Regions from separate parts of the Homo sapiens genome. Here all the other regions are linked to region 3. Evidence: promoter capture Hi-C in 16 types of primary human blood cells and fetal thymus (Javierre and others, 2016). All regions are on one chromosome and are shown on one strand. The core of a region is centred on a gene start or on the middle of the fragment in contact, and the rest is flanking DNA. Distances in the headings are between cores, read along the strand shown. Region 1 overlaps TMEM33 (transmembrane protein 33). Region 2 overlaps STIM2 (stromal interaction molecule 2). Region 3 holds the start of ARAP2 (ArfGAP with RhoGAP domain, ankyrin repeat and PH domain 2).

The links. The method cuts DNA at HindIII sites, captures the fragments that hold promoters and counts their contacts. A CHiCAGO score of 5 or more calls a contact.
Region 1: a contact is called between a fragment that was not itself captured here and the fragment with the promoter of ARAP2 in region 3, in 1 of 17 cell types (M0 macrophages). The highest score is 6.1, in M0 macrophages.
Region 2: a contact is called between a fragment that was not itself captured here and the fragment with the promoter of ARAP2 in region 3, in 3 of 17 cell types (non-activated CD4 T cells, total CD8 T cells and total CD4 T cells). The highest score is 10.0, in non-activated CD4 T cells.

Annotation. Positions count from the first base shown.
Region 1 is chr4:41,946,539-41,951,327 of GRCh38, forward strand. TMEM33 (transmembrane protein 33) reads left to right here. Exons shown (of 7, transcript NM_018126.3): 6 at 2,764-2,847. Among named protein-coding and RNA genes, the nearest start is that of TMEM33, 14 kb to the left of the region's middle. The HindIII fragment of the contact is 888 bases long and covers 2,440-3,327 here.
Region 2 is chr4:26,885,284-26,889,845 of GRCh38, forward strand. The region is part of intron 1 of STIM2 (stromal interaction molecule 2); the gene reads left to right. Among named protein-coding and RNA genes, the nearest start is that of STIM2, 27 kb to the left of the region's middle. The HindIII fragment of the contact is 871 bases long and covers 918-1,788 here.
Region 3 is chr4:36,242,873-36,247,203 of GRCh38, forward strand. ARAP2 (ArfGAP with RhoGAP domain, ankyrin repeat and PH domain 2) reads right to left here and starts at 1,642. Exons shown (of 33, transcript NM_015230.4): 1 at 1,307-1,642. It overlaps LOC439933 (a long non-coding RNA gene), which reads left to right and starts at 1,244. Exons shown (of 5, transcript NR_122079.1): 1 at 1,244-1,339; 2 at 2,300-2,438. RefSeq lists a silencer at 1,438-2,017. The HindIII fragment of the contact is 5,605 bases long and covers 505-4,331 here.

The DNA.
Region 1 (4,789 bases), core at 1,634-4,133, 5.7 Mb after region 3:
AGGACTGGCTGGTGTTGCTTAAGTTGTATGGTCCCAACTAGATTTGATGCAGTTGTATTTGTAAATTAACTCTAAAACCTTGACCCTAAAATTTAATAAAAGCATCCTCTTATCCTAGAAGCTGAAAGCATATAAAAGAAAAGGGTAATGTAATCTGGGACAGCAGAAAAAGGGACAACATCAACATTCTAATATTTTTTCCATCATTTATAGGTTTTTCTTTCCACCTCTTTCTTTTGTGATCCTGATCTACACTTAGAAACTTTAATTATTAATTAGTAAGAGGAACTTTTTGCTCCCTTTTGTTATTCATTTTTCTCGGGTTTTTGTGTCACTTAATCCTGCTTTTGGGTCAGGATCACAGGTTCTGTGATTTGTTTCATGTAACTAGATGAAAGTTAAAATGGTAGATACCAGGCCGAGCACGGTGGCTCACAGCCTGTAAACCCAGCACTTTGGGAAGCCAAAGCTGGCAGAGCATGAGGTCAAGAGATCGAGACCATCCTGGCCAATGTGGTGAAACCCCGTCTCTACTAAAAATACAAAAATTAGCTGGGCCTGGTGGTGTGTGCCTGTAGTCCCAGCTACTCGGGAGGCTGAGGCAGGAGAATCGCTTGAACCCTGGAGGCAGAGGTTGCAGTGAGCCGAGATCGTGCCACTGCGCTCCAGCCTGGCGACAGACCAAGACTCCCTCTCAAAAAAAAAAAAAAAGATAGATACCGAGACTAGTTTTTTTGTATGGGTATAATTGATGTCTATATCCTGAAACCTCCAGATTCTGTTTAGTAAGCAAAATAATTTCTTATGCTCCTCTTAAATCAGATTAAAATAATTTTAATGAAATTCTGAGATGCCATGCAAACTTAGACAAAAACTTCACTTTGGAACTATAGTGAATTTTTTGTTAGGAGCACCAGGTTTTGACTGCGTTGGTACATTAATTCAATTGTGCTCCTTAAATGTTTAATTTAAACATTTATTTGTACAAACTTACCATCTTAATTTTTAAGATTACTGTAAAAAAGATGAGAATTTACCAGAAATGTTTAAATAGAGAAATAATTTTGTTTGAAAAATTAAAATCAGCTTATAAAGTGGTACTTAATTCCTATTAGGAAAAGCTGTTAATGCCTTAAGTAGGTAGTTTGAATATGACCTAAACAATAAAATTAAGAACAGTCTTACATTACTGCTATTCTTAATATGCTACCCTTTCTGGTATACACACAGTCTAATATTAGGAGGCTTTATCAAGTTACATTTGTGCCAGTAATGCTTCAAGCTCTGTATTTAAAAATTGATGCATTGTCTGAGTTTATCTTACACATGCGTTGCACATGTGTGCAAAGACAGGTAAAAGGATCATTGTGGCTTTTCTTCTAATTGACTGGAGCCACCCAAATATTCATTAGTACGGAGTTTGTTACATAATAGTCCAAGCATTAGATGGTATATTTGAAGCTGTAAAAAAGATTGCGGTAATTTATGTGTTGTGATATGGGATAATCACCAAGATATAATAAGTTAAACTTAGTTGTGTAGGGTGTTCTCCATTTATATTTAGTGGGGTGTATGTGTGTAAGGACATAGACGTTTCTGTCTCAGTTTTTTGGGAATGATAAACCATCTCTGTCCTAGAGTTGTTAAACAGATTTAGTGAATTATAAAGTGAGCACTATCAATGTTAGTCATTATATACACTTGTATATATACATTTCTGGAAGGACATATTCGAGATTGTGGTATAAGTTTGAGGAAGGGGCTAACTTGGATGATGGGAAACTTGTTTTTTAAGTGAATATTTTCTATTTATATTTTCTATGTTGTGTCTCTTACATTTTCACTTTAAAAAGATAAAAATTTGTCAAATTATTAGGGAAAATGGATGTTGCATTTGTTTAGTGGTAAGTTCGTAATCGTGTAAATTTTTTTTAATGAAAATGATACAATTTAGAAGAAAAGGCTAAAAAACCTAATAAAACACATTTGGCATCTTAATATATTTCTTCCAATTTAAAAAAATACAATTGTAATAATATGTGTAGTTTTATATTCTGCTTTTTTCAGAGTTGCTATGTAATTTTCATAACCAAGATTCTAGGTAGTTGCATATTAAATCCATTAAATAACCATAATATAAGTTGTTCAATTCTACTTCCTTACAGTTCACATTAGGTTGTTGCCACATTTTGTTTGTAGTTATTTCAGTGAATGTCTTAATTCAGATAGTTTTTCTTAGGGAAGAATTCCAGACCTGGTATTTCATAAACATATATATAATTCTTGGGATATTGTAATTGTGTTTTTTAACCAAGAACAATAATTAGTATAGGCTGTTTAGATTTACTGATGAGCCAGTGTAATTTTTTTGGTGGAGGGGAGTGTTTGTTTCTTTTTATATATATAAAATAAGTCACTTTTCATTTGCATATTTTATGAAGCTTTACAACTTGATTTCATCAATTAGTAATTACGGAATTATTTAACATTTTCTGATTTATTTAGTATTTTAAAAAATTTCAAAAGTAATACAGATAAGAATACATTTATAAAAAAATTAAACAACATTTTACTCTTTACCAATCATGTACATTCTTTTATATCCTTTTTTAAGGATAACTTGGATTTAGACATGATAGATTTCACTATGACCATTTGATGAATGAAGATACACATATTCTCCAGTTGAATTGCTTTTAAGTTTTGAGAGTATACACATGAATTGAAATGTATATTTATCACGCTTGTATTTGTTTATTTCAGTGGTCAAGGAAGTTTGCTCCAACCTTTTATATACTATAGATTTCTTACCCTTCGATATTCGTCTCGAAGAAACCCATATTGTCGGTAAGCTGATGATTATTTTAGGCATGTTTTATTTGTTGAGAGTATTGTGAATATATAGTATTCGCAATTCTTAAGAGTTACTTAGCTAATGTGTTAGACTTTAGAAGCAAGCAGTGTTTTTGTAAATTTAAGTTCTAGGCCTTAGAATGTACTGGGGTTGGTGAGGAAGTGGTTGTATTTGTTCTTAGAAACTGAGACTGCAGTTATCTACGCCACCTCTAAAGCACTGCTAAAACTTAGCAAATTTTAAAATGTATAAGACATAGATTCCACTCTCAACTTTCCTAGTTGAAGAAACAAAACACGTGTCAATTAGATAAACAATGGTTAGGATACAGAATTCACAAGCCAATAGATAATGAATGCCATATGTTTGCTTTATTATATCAGTACTGCAGTCCACAGAAGGGAGAGATCATTGGGCCAGAAGATAGATGAGCCCAGGAAGGTTTCACAAAATTGAGATTGTGGGAGGAGTAAAGCTTTTGAATAGGGAAAAGCATTTTAGGTGGGGCAAGAGAGACGAGAAGCACAAGCCATATTTGAGGAACTTTATGTAGAGCTGTTTTGACTCTAATGGAGATTCTGAATGGCTAATTGCTGGAGCTAAGATTAGAAAGGTATATTGGAGCTATATTATAAAACTTCTTGAGTTTTAGGGTAAGAAGTTTGGAATTTATCTTTTAGGTGAATGGGAATGATGGTTTTGACATCGTCAGAATATTCTTCTGATACCCTTGTGCCAGAAGAGTTTGAAGCAGAAAAATGGGGAAGCAGAGAAATTTTAGGGAATTACTGTAGTTTTCAGGAATGGAGGCTTAAATTAATATACACTAAATTATGCATTCTGATCTCAAGCATTGGAGTAAAACTAAAATGATACTCAAATACTAATATTAAGATAATCTATTTTTAAGTTTAAAATAATGTAGAATTCAGCTAGAAATCCAATGAGTGCATTACAGCAATCTGTATATTTTCATAAGTACAGTAAAAAGAACTTGAATTTGAATGCTGGCCCATCATTAACTAGTTGTGTGACTAGGCAGGTTATTTATTTGGATTTCTTCATTGGTAGAGGAAATAACTCCTTCTGGGGGTGAAGCGAAGTAATATTTTAAAAGTACTTAGACTGTTATGTTCTTACTAGTTCATTTTCATTATTCTATGATCTGATTTTCTGTTCAGAGCGTTTTTATGCTCTATTAGACAATGTCTTTTTTATAATACTTTCTAAAATAGAACTTATTTTAGACATTCGTTCTTAGTGAGTCTCTAGTAGCAAATTAACATTCATTTTTACTTGATTTCTTGAGTTTTAGCCTTTTTTCTTTCTGGTCCCTATATTCATTTCAGACATTATCTTATATTCTCTTGCCCTGACATCTGTTATTTTAATCAGCATATTTGTTTTTCTGTGCTTCTTTGTGCCTCCTTCTCCATTCCCATTTTCTTCACATACCCTTAAATCATATTAGTACATCTAGAATTCAGTTTTCAGTGGACTGAAAAGGAAAGGATAGCAGTGAATCAAGATAACACAAATATGTGCTGGTAAACATCTTCAAAGCTGTCTTATAAGCACCCATTTTAACCAAACCAGTGGAAAGGTAATGGAAAATATTTCAGCTTGTAAATATTGATAAACAGGCTATAAAACTACATTTTCAGTACTACACTTTTTTTAATTAAAGGTTTTGAGACCATCTCTATTCACAATTTGTACCATTTTCACCTACGATATTTATTCTCAAGTTGGTGGTTTCAGTTGTTTTTGGATCTCTAGTGCAGATTGTCTATAGCTGTGCTGTCCAGTACAGCACAGCAACCACATTTGACCTTTAAATAAAATTCATAAAACTTAGAACTTGGTTCCTTTTGAGCACAGTTCAGGTGGGTACTCAAAAGCCATGTGTTGCTGATGGCAACTGTGGGTCAGCAC
Region 2 (4,562 bases), core at 103-2,602, 9.4 Mb before region 3:
ACAAAGTGAATACTCACATGTTATTAGCACCCAGATCGAGAAACATAATGTTGCCTTTACCCAGAAGTCCTTCATGTCCTCTTGAAATCAGTATGTGCCTTTGCCTAAGGTTAACCACTGTCCTTACTTTAATACCATAGATTTGCTTCCCTATTTTTGAATGTGAATAAATGGAGTCATCAGCATATGATTGTATCAGCTTATTTACTGGACAGCTGTCATTTTATTTTTTGGTATCTGCTAAGACTGGAAAATAGGGGTATCAAGGCTTGAATTGTAAATCTTGATGGTATGAAGGATCCTCCTTTAACTAAAGCATGTAGGATTTTAATGTGTGATATTTGTGACATAGTTTTCATTTCTGACTATTTTTTCAGGTTTATGTTTTGCCTGGGTGAATTCAGAATGTAACTTTCAGATATACAAATTGTTTACCTTGGTTACCAGGCTATGTAGTTTATAAGAGCAGTAAAACTGAAAATATAGCATTCAGTGCTAGTTGTATTATGAGAATGAAGCCAAATTTAGCACCTCAGGTTATATATATATATATATATATATATATATATATATATATATATATATATATATGTATATGTCTATTCATGTAAATATGCAGTGTTGATTTATCCTAATTACTGAGACATTCCATTATGGCTTATTGAAAATTACATATAAACCTTATTTTAAATCTGATTTTTAGATACTTGAGTTTTAAGAAGCTGATCACCATGCGCCAGTTCCTCTTATTTGACAAACAAGGAAGTTGTGGCTATGTGAGCTCATAATTTGAGGTTCAGTGGAACAGAGGAGAACTGTGACGGGCAGAACATTTACTTTCATATTCTCTGTAAAACCAAATCAGTGAGAAGGATGCAAGGAGAACTAGGACAGTATATGAACTTTTTCCTTCTTAAAGCTTTTTCTGTGTAGGAGCATATTCATATAACTGAGAAGATTGTTTGAAATTTTAGCTTAAGGCTAATATATTATTTCAATATATACTCATTGAACACTTACAGATATTGTTGTAGGTATTGGAGCAATGAAGAAAACGATGAGCTTAATTTCACTGAGGATAAGACAGTTAACAAGTAGACAAATATTTATCAGGAGATGATAAATGCAATGAAGGAAAATAAAATAGGTGAGAAGGTAGAGAATGTTAGGGAAAGTATATGTGTGTTTGCTGTTATTTAAGGTGGTCAGGGAAATCTTCATAGTTGACATTTGACAAGAGAGAAGGGAGAGACAGAGGGATGAGACCCTTCAGGTGGAGAGAATGGCATGTGCATGGGCCCTGATGGATACCATTGTTGGATTTTTGGAGAAACTTCCAGGAGACCACAGGGCTGGTGTAGAGTAAGCAATGGAGAGAGTAATAGATAGATCAGAGAGGTTGTCTGGGCTAGAATGTACAGTCTTGTAGACATCATCTACAAGATGTGAGGACATTGTCATTGTATGTCATGTACTCTGAGATGGGGAGCTACTGCAGGGTTTTTGAGAAGTGTGACATGATTTGATTTATGTTTGGAAATGATCACTTCAGCTCTTTCACTGAAATGACACTCTAGAAGGTCTAGTCTTAGAGCAGGGAGACCAATTAGTAGGCTTTTGTCCGGGGAGAGAAAGTGCTAGAGCTCCCTTGTTAGCTATGGAGGTGGTAATAGGTGGTATAGGTGGAGCTATATGTGGATGCTAAATACAGTGAAAGCCCTTCTGTTCTGTTGTCCTGAAAATCAAGTTCATTGTTATATGAACTTTATTGTGAAGTAAAGACATAAAAGCTTATGCCTTTATAGGATATAATTTAAAGAGCTAGGAAATTGGAACAACCCGTAGTGTTCAACTGCTGAATGTTACAAGATACAATAAGCACCAAACCAAATAATTAAACTTTTTTTTTTTTTTTTTTTTTTTTGCCTCTTGCCTTGTCCGTGATCCCTTTAAAACTTAGAATTTATTTGAGCTTTTTTTCTTTACTGTTTTGTTTGATGTTGCTTTCATTTTCTACTTGGGTTAAGATGTATCTTGCTAATAATCTAAGATCACACCGTGCTGTTACAGAATTACAGACTTTGATTGAACTCAAGGAAGTGGACAAAGCCTAAAGCTCAAACTGTCTGCTAATTACAGGAACTTCTCCGGTGTATCCCTTATAGACTGTCATTCATTAGCTCCTCAGATACTTTGGGTGGTTGGGAACTTATTGCTCCTGAACAACTTTTCCATTAGTAGGCAGTTCTGGTTTGTGAGAAGTTCTTTGTTGCATTAAACTAAAATCTTTCAGTACTTTCTTTGGGTTCTAGATGTATCCTTTGAAGCAAAGAGTGGCTATTTTTTCTCTTAATGTTTTAAAAGACCCTGTATTAGGGTTCTGTACAGAAATAGAACCAGAAGGAATGAATGTATATGTTCATTATTACAAATTAATAATATAATTTTATATAGTGCATATCTGTAATTATATTACCAATTATTTAGTTGCACTTAAAATACTCAAAGATGTAACTTAAAATAATTAATTGTTTTATACATGTATCTACATATCTACATAGATAGACATAGGTAAAACATAGAGACTTATTTCAAGGAATTGGCTGAGGTAATTGAAAAGATCCAAATCCAAATCCAAAATCCATAGGATAGGCTGGCAGATTGGAAACTCTTGGGCAGGCGATGATGCTGCAGTCGTGGGGCAGAATATTTCTTTCTCAGAAAAGGCTTTCCTGCTGATTGGATCAGGCCCACCCACATTTCCAAGAATAATTTCCTTTGCTTAAAGTCAACTGATTGTAGATGTTAACTGTGTTTACAAAATACCATCACAGTAGCACCCAGGTTAGTGTTTGATTGAATAACTGGATACTATAGTTTAGACAAGTTGATACATAAAACTGTCATAGTCCATCCTTGTCAACTTGGCGCCCATACACATCTTCTTAAATGATACTTAATCTCCAAATGAACGCAATAACAAAGTCATACTTCTGCCTAACATAATATGAATATCCTTCAAACAACTGAAAACATGCCAACCCTTTCCCCAGAAGAGGATGCGGAGTCCCTGGGTAATGTTCATTCTCCCTAATAAGCTATAACTTAAATATCATGATGTAAAGTTAGCTATTATTAATATATCTTATGTCAGATGATAAAGGGATTAAAGAGCAAGAAAACAAAGATATTTGCTAAATATTTGAATACATTCGTTACAAAATAAGACATAACAGTTACAGTTTTCTGTGGCTGGTCACATGGTCGTAGCTGGTTTTTGTTTATGATTACCTTCTTGCACTATCCATTCCATTTTTCCCTTTCCCTTAGCAAGCACCTTAGCTCTTTGTGGTTCTTTGCCTGTTGGGGTGATCCAAAACTTTGTTCCTGAAGGGTCTGGGCATACCCAATTTAAGTAGTCCTTAAATTGGGTTATTGTAGTTTTCCATTGACTTTAATCACAGAGCATGGCAGTAATTACAAGATCTCTTGTATTCCGGACTTAGTCTTTTAATCACAGAGCGTGAAAGTAATTACAAGATCTCTCGTATTCTGGACTTAGTCTTTCATACCTCCATTGTATGGTAGCAGTTGAATTTCTTCTTAGTAACCAGCAACCCTGGTCAGTACACTAACCCTGGGTCTTCTTTGCCTGTTCATTCTGAGGCATGAGGAGTTCAAAGTGGCCAGGTGGTAGTCTTAATGTCGGTTCAGTGGAATCATTCTATCTCCCAGTGGAAACAGTCCTCTTTTTGGAAATAAGGCCTCTAGACCAGCAGAGGATAAGGTTAAAGAATAGGCAACAAAAATTTCGCTAGTGAAACAATAGGGATAATAGTGAGTGGCCCCACTCTTATTTCTCTCTCTGGATTCTGGGATCCATGAATCCTGGCCATGGGAGAAATAGCACCATACATTGGATGCTGATTTAGAGCATACATAGCCTCATGGAAAACATTGCACAAGTTTTTGTCACCTTGCTGACAACGTAACTGAGTCTTCAAAAATCCATTCTACCATTCTATTAAGCCAGCTGCTTCAGGATGATGAGGAACATGGTAAGACCAGTGAATTTTATTAGTATGGGTCCACTGTTACACTTCATGTGCTGTAAAGTGTGTTCCTTGATCAGAAGCAATGCTGTGTGAAGCACCTAGATGGTGGATAAGGCATTCTGTGGGTTTGGCAGAATGCTTGCATGCAGGGAAGAGAAATCCATATCTAGAGTATCTGTTGTAATAAGAACAAAACAGTGCCCCATTCATGATGGCAGTGGTCCAATATAATCAGCCTTTCATGAGATAGTTGGCTGATCACTCTGGGGAACGGTGCCATATCAGGGACTCATTATTGGTTTCTGTAACTGGCAGATTGGGCCTCATTAGCACCTGTAGCCAGGTCGGCCTTGGTACATAGAAGTTCATGTTGCTGAGCCACCTTCCTCCTTCCTATGGCCTCTTCGTTCATGACAGAAGTGGCTAGGGAAAAAAGCTGGCTGGGATCTGCAGAATGAGTTATTCTATCTACTTGATTATTAAAATCCTGCTCTGCTGAGGTCACCT
Region 3 (4,331 bases), core at 392-2,891:
ACTGACAAATCTATATAAAACCCTCTTCGTGTTAGGAACCACCTTAAATGTGTATGTGTTAAATATGTTTAGAAAGAAGCCAGGAAGATATTTGCACTTAACCCTAGCCTAGTTCCATGACCCACTTTTTTTTCTTCTTTAAACGTTGTTGGACAAAAAATGTCATGAGTATTTTCTCTCAATATTTCTCCTGTAAGTGTATGGAAGTCATAAATAAGAGTTAAAAAAAAAAGAGTTTAAAGGTATTTCTCTTTTTTTCCTTAAAAAAAGTTAGCTTGCTTTTTATCTTCCAATTACTTACGGGCAAAGTTCCATGGGCCTGTGGGGGTGTAGAGTGCTTAAGTGCAGATAAATCAATACTGAGCTTGTAAGTACAATACTATTATGAGTAATAACAATGACATCCTATTAAATGTACTTTTAAAAATAGCTTATTTTCAATACACTTCTTGATTTTTTTTAAACCGAAGGCTGTATTCTACTGAACAGCCTACTTCAAGGACAAGCTTGCAAAAAAAAAAAAAAAAAAAAAAAGAATTTGCTATCAGGATACCTACTTACAACACCCTAAGATGTCATTATTCCACACAAATTAGCTTATTTTCTTGTGTTTTCCTCTAATTATCAAAGGCTATATAATCCACGAACCCTTTCCCCAAATCAAAATAACTCCAGATCACCTCAAGGTAGGAGGTGTTTAAGAAAACAAGCCAGAATTAGATAAAGTAAAACTTACTTTATTAAATAGGATGGACACCACTTCTCCCAAGAGAACTGTCTCCAAAAGTAAACAAGAAAGATCAATCTGGTAAACTCACATCATACAGGTTCCCGTGTAAGGTATCGGGTTCAGGCAGGTGGAAGCCAAATGATCGTAATTAAAGTTAATTAACAGGCCAGTCGTCTTAACGTGGTTAACAAGCAGGGTGCGGGGCAGCACAGACACCCGGGCAAATTCATGATCTCTACCGAGTAAATAACTTGGTGCCTGAAACTCACTACAGCTTCTTCTTATTTAAAGGTAGGGGAGAGGAATGGAGGGAGTGTCCAGCTGTCTATCCGGATCCTCACCCTCCCGGGTCAAATCCCAGAAGTGGAGTTCTTGGATCACTTACCGGCTTCTGGTTTCCTTTCAGACGCCCACACGCGGGAGCGAAATCCAAGGGGCGGACACCAGAGCCGAGCACTTTGCGCTGAGGAAATTTACCCGGTGAAGTGTCGAAAAGCCCCAGCCCCTCCAGACAGGGTCCTCCCACCCCCGCGTGGGCCATCCCGGCCCAGCCTTCCCGAGGCCCCGGGTACTCGCCTTGCGCTCGGGTCGCGGAGTTCGAAAAGCGAGGTGAGGCGGCGCTGGGAAGCTCAGCGCCGGCGTCTCTCCCAGCCTTGGGCGCTCGGTCCTCGCCCCTCTGCCGGAGGCGCCAGGCCTCCTCTTTCCCGGTCCCCGCCGGCTGTCCGCAGTCGCCTCTGCTGCCTGGCGGCGGCCGCGCGGGCGGCGCTGTTAGTGGGGCCGGCGTGTCGCGGCCGCCGCACCTGGAGGCGGGGAGCGCGGGCCGCGGACCCGCGCTCAGCTCCGGAAACGCCGAGCCCGGCGCCCGCGCCTTGCTCAGGTGCTCCCGCGCCTCGCCTCGGCCGCCGCTTCCTCTCCGCCCGCGGGGGCGGGGAGCAGGCGCCCCGCGCGGGGGAAGCCGGAGCTCAACGGCGGGGGCGGCCCAGCCGGCCTCCCTGGTTCCGCAGCATAGTTGGGTGACTGACTCAGACCGCCGCGACTTGGCCGCGCCTGGCACCCTCGCCACCTGGCGCACCTCGGCCCGGAGGCGTCAGACCCCGCTGGGGAAGCTGCGGGGGCGCGCCCTGGAGCCCAGAGCGACAGGGGCATTACCCACCTTCCCGGGACGGAGATGCCCAGGACCTTGTGTTGGCTCCTCCTGGCCAGTGGGTTTGTCTGTGCGCACTCATGGGGGGTTGAATGTCAAATGGGCGGAACCTCGCCACGACTGATTATTAGTATTACTCTTCCAAGTACTTAAAGTGTTAGCTCAGCGTTTCCCAAACTGAAGACTCATCTAGGGCACTATTTTCCCCAGGCTGCTTCTATGTAAATTTGCTCCTTCTTGCACCTGTGGCGGTTAGATCCCAGAGGGGCATTTCCCCTTTGAGTTGGACTCTGACAAAGGAGGCAGCGAAGGAAAATAGGGGATCCCAAAGAACCCTTGTGGACCTCCAAATATCTAAGCGTCCGTAAAATCCAGTTATTTGCAAGTGAGTTCACAGACCAACTACTTTTTTTTTTTTTTTTTAGACAGGGTCTCACTTTGTCACCCAGGCTGGAGTGTAGTGAGGCAATCTCAGCTCATTGCGCCTCCGCCTCTGGGTCCAAGCTATCCTCCCACGTCAGCCTCCCAGGTAGCTGGGATTACAGGCGCGCACCATCAGCCAAGGTAATTTTTTTTGTATTTTTGGTATAGACGGAGTTTCGCCTTGTTGCCCAGGCTGGTCTCAAACTCCTGACCTCAAGTGATCCACCTGCCTCGGCCTCCCAAAGTGCTGGGATTACAGGCGTGAGACACTGCCCCCTACCAGCTTTTTTTTTTTTTTTTATAAACATCTCCCACAGACTACCTGAAATTCTCTTCATTAAAAGGTGAAATGTATTTATCTTTCCCCTGTTCCTGTTGATGGAAGTGAAGCAATTAAGGAAAGCGCAGACCTTATGAAAATGAGATAATTGGTGAAGTGCGGAAAGAGAGAGGCTTCCCACAAGCCTGGGCCCTTAGGATTCTTCAGTCATCACCTTCACCCACACTAACTACCTGCCCAAAGCACCGTCTTTCCCTGGGGAGACTCTGAAGCAGCTCTGTCTTACTAGAGACACCAAATATCCAGTTCCTTTTGAACTTAATACCTCATAGCCGACCTCATTTCCACCAGGAAAGTTTTATTGACATTTTCCAAACCACGGGAACTTTTTCTCTGGATTCCTATAGCATTTATAGGAGGAATTTTATTTATGTGGCTCTTTTCTGGCTTCATTCTCTGTGTGTGTGTGTTTCTTTTGTTCTTTTTCCCTTTTCCCTCTCCAAATTCTCACATACTTCTCTCTTTTTTTTTATCTCTCTCTTTTTTGTTTTTGTTTTTGTTTTCGACTGAGCCCCGCTGTATCGCCCAGGCTGGAGCGTGGAGAGCAGTGGCGCGATCTCAGCTCACTGCAGCCTCCGCCTCCTGGGTTCAAGCCATTCTCCCGCCTCAGCCTCCTGAGTAGCTGGGATTACAGGCATGCACCACCACGCCTAGCTAATTTTCGTGTTTTTAGTAGAGGCAGGGTTTCACCATGTTGGCCAGGGTGGTCTGAAACTCATGGCCTCAAGTGATTCGCCTGCGTTGGCCTCCAGAAGTGCTGAGATTACAGGCGTGAGCCACCATGCCTGGCTCTATTTTTATCATTGTAAGCCATCTTCGGTCCTTCTCTAAACAAGGTGGGTTATAAATAAAAATTATTAGATCAGTTATCTTATGTGTGGGAGGTTCAATCATTGCTTTGTCCTCAAGTTACTTCGCTTGGTAGATTTTATAAACTAATTGAGAAATTGTCTCTCTCCCTCTTCGCAAAAATATCTTAGTTCTTTGATTATTATTCAGTCATTTATTCTTTAAAAATTATTAATCACTGTTTGGCATTTTGAAAATACAGTGTTTAGCAAATACAATGCAATCTCTGGATTTATGTTTTCTGAGGGGAAATAAAGGTAAATGCTACAAGGTACAACAATGACTTCATAATAGCCCTGGGAAATAAAGAAGAACAATGCTCACTTATTGAATGTATACATTAGTTATAAGATGTATTCTGGTTTAATGAATCTTAATATATGGAGGAAAATAAAAATGTCTGAGGAAATACGGCAAAAGCTATCTTTTATTAATTGATCGATAGTCACCAGACTCTAGTCAAATACCTAACATATATGCTGTGTATACACAACGTGTGTGAGTTAAAATTCTTTTTTCAATTTTATAAATATAGGTTTAATTGAAACTTAAAGAGGTTAAGTAGTAAATAGTGAATACATTGAATACATTTAGGCTATATTCTTAGGGTATAAATTTTTTATTTTGCAACCTTCACAGTGAGGTATTCAGAGAGCAAAGTACACAGGGAAATTGGCTTTACAAGGATTAAGGTATGGGCCAGGCACAGTGGCTCAGGCCTGTAATCTCAGCACTTTGGGAGGCAGAGGCGGGCAGATAACCTGAGGTCTGGAGTTCGAGACCAGCCTGGCCAACATGGCGAAACCCCATCTCTACTAAAAATACAAAAAAATTAGCTGGACATG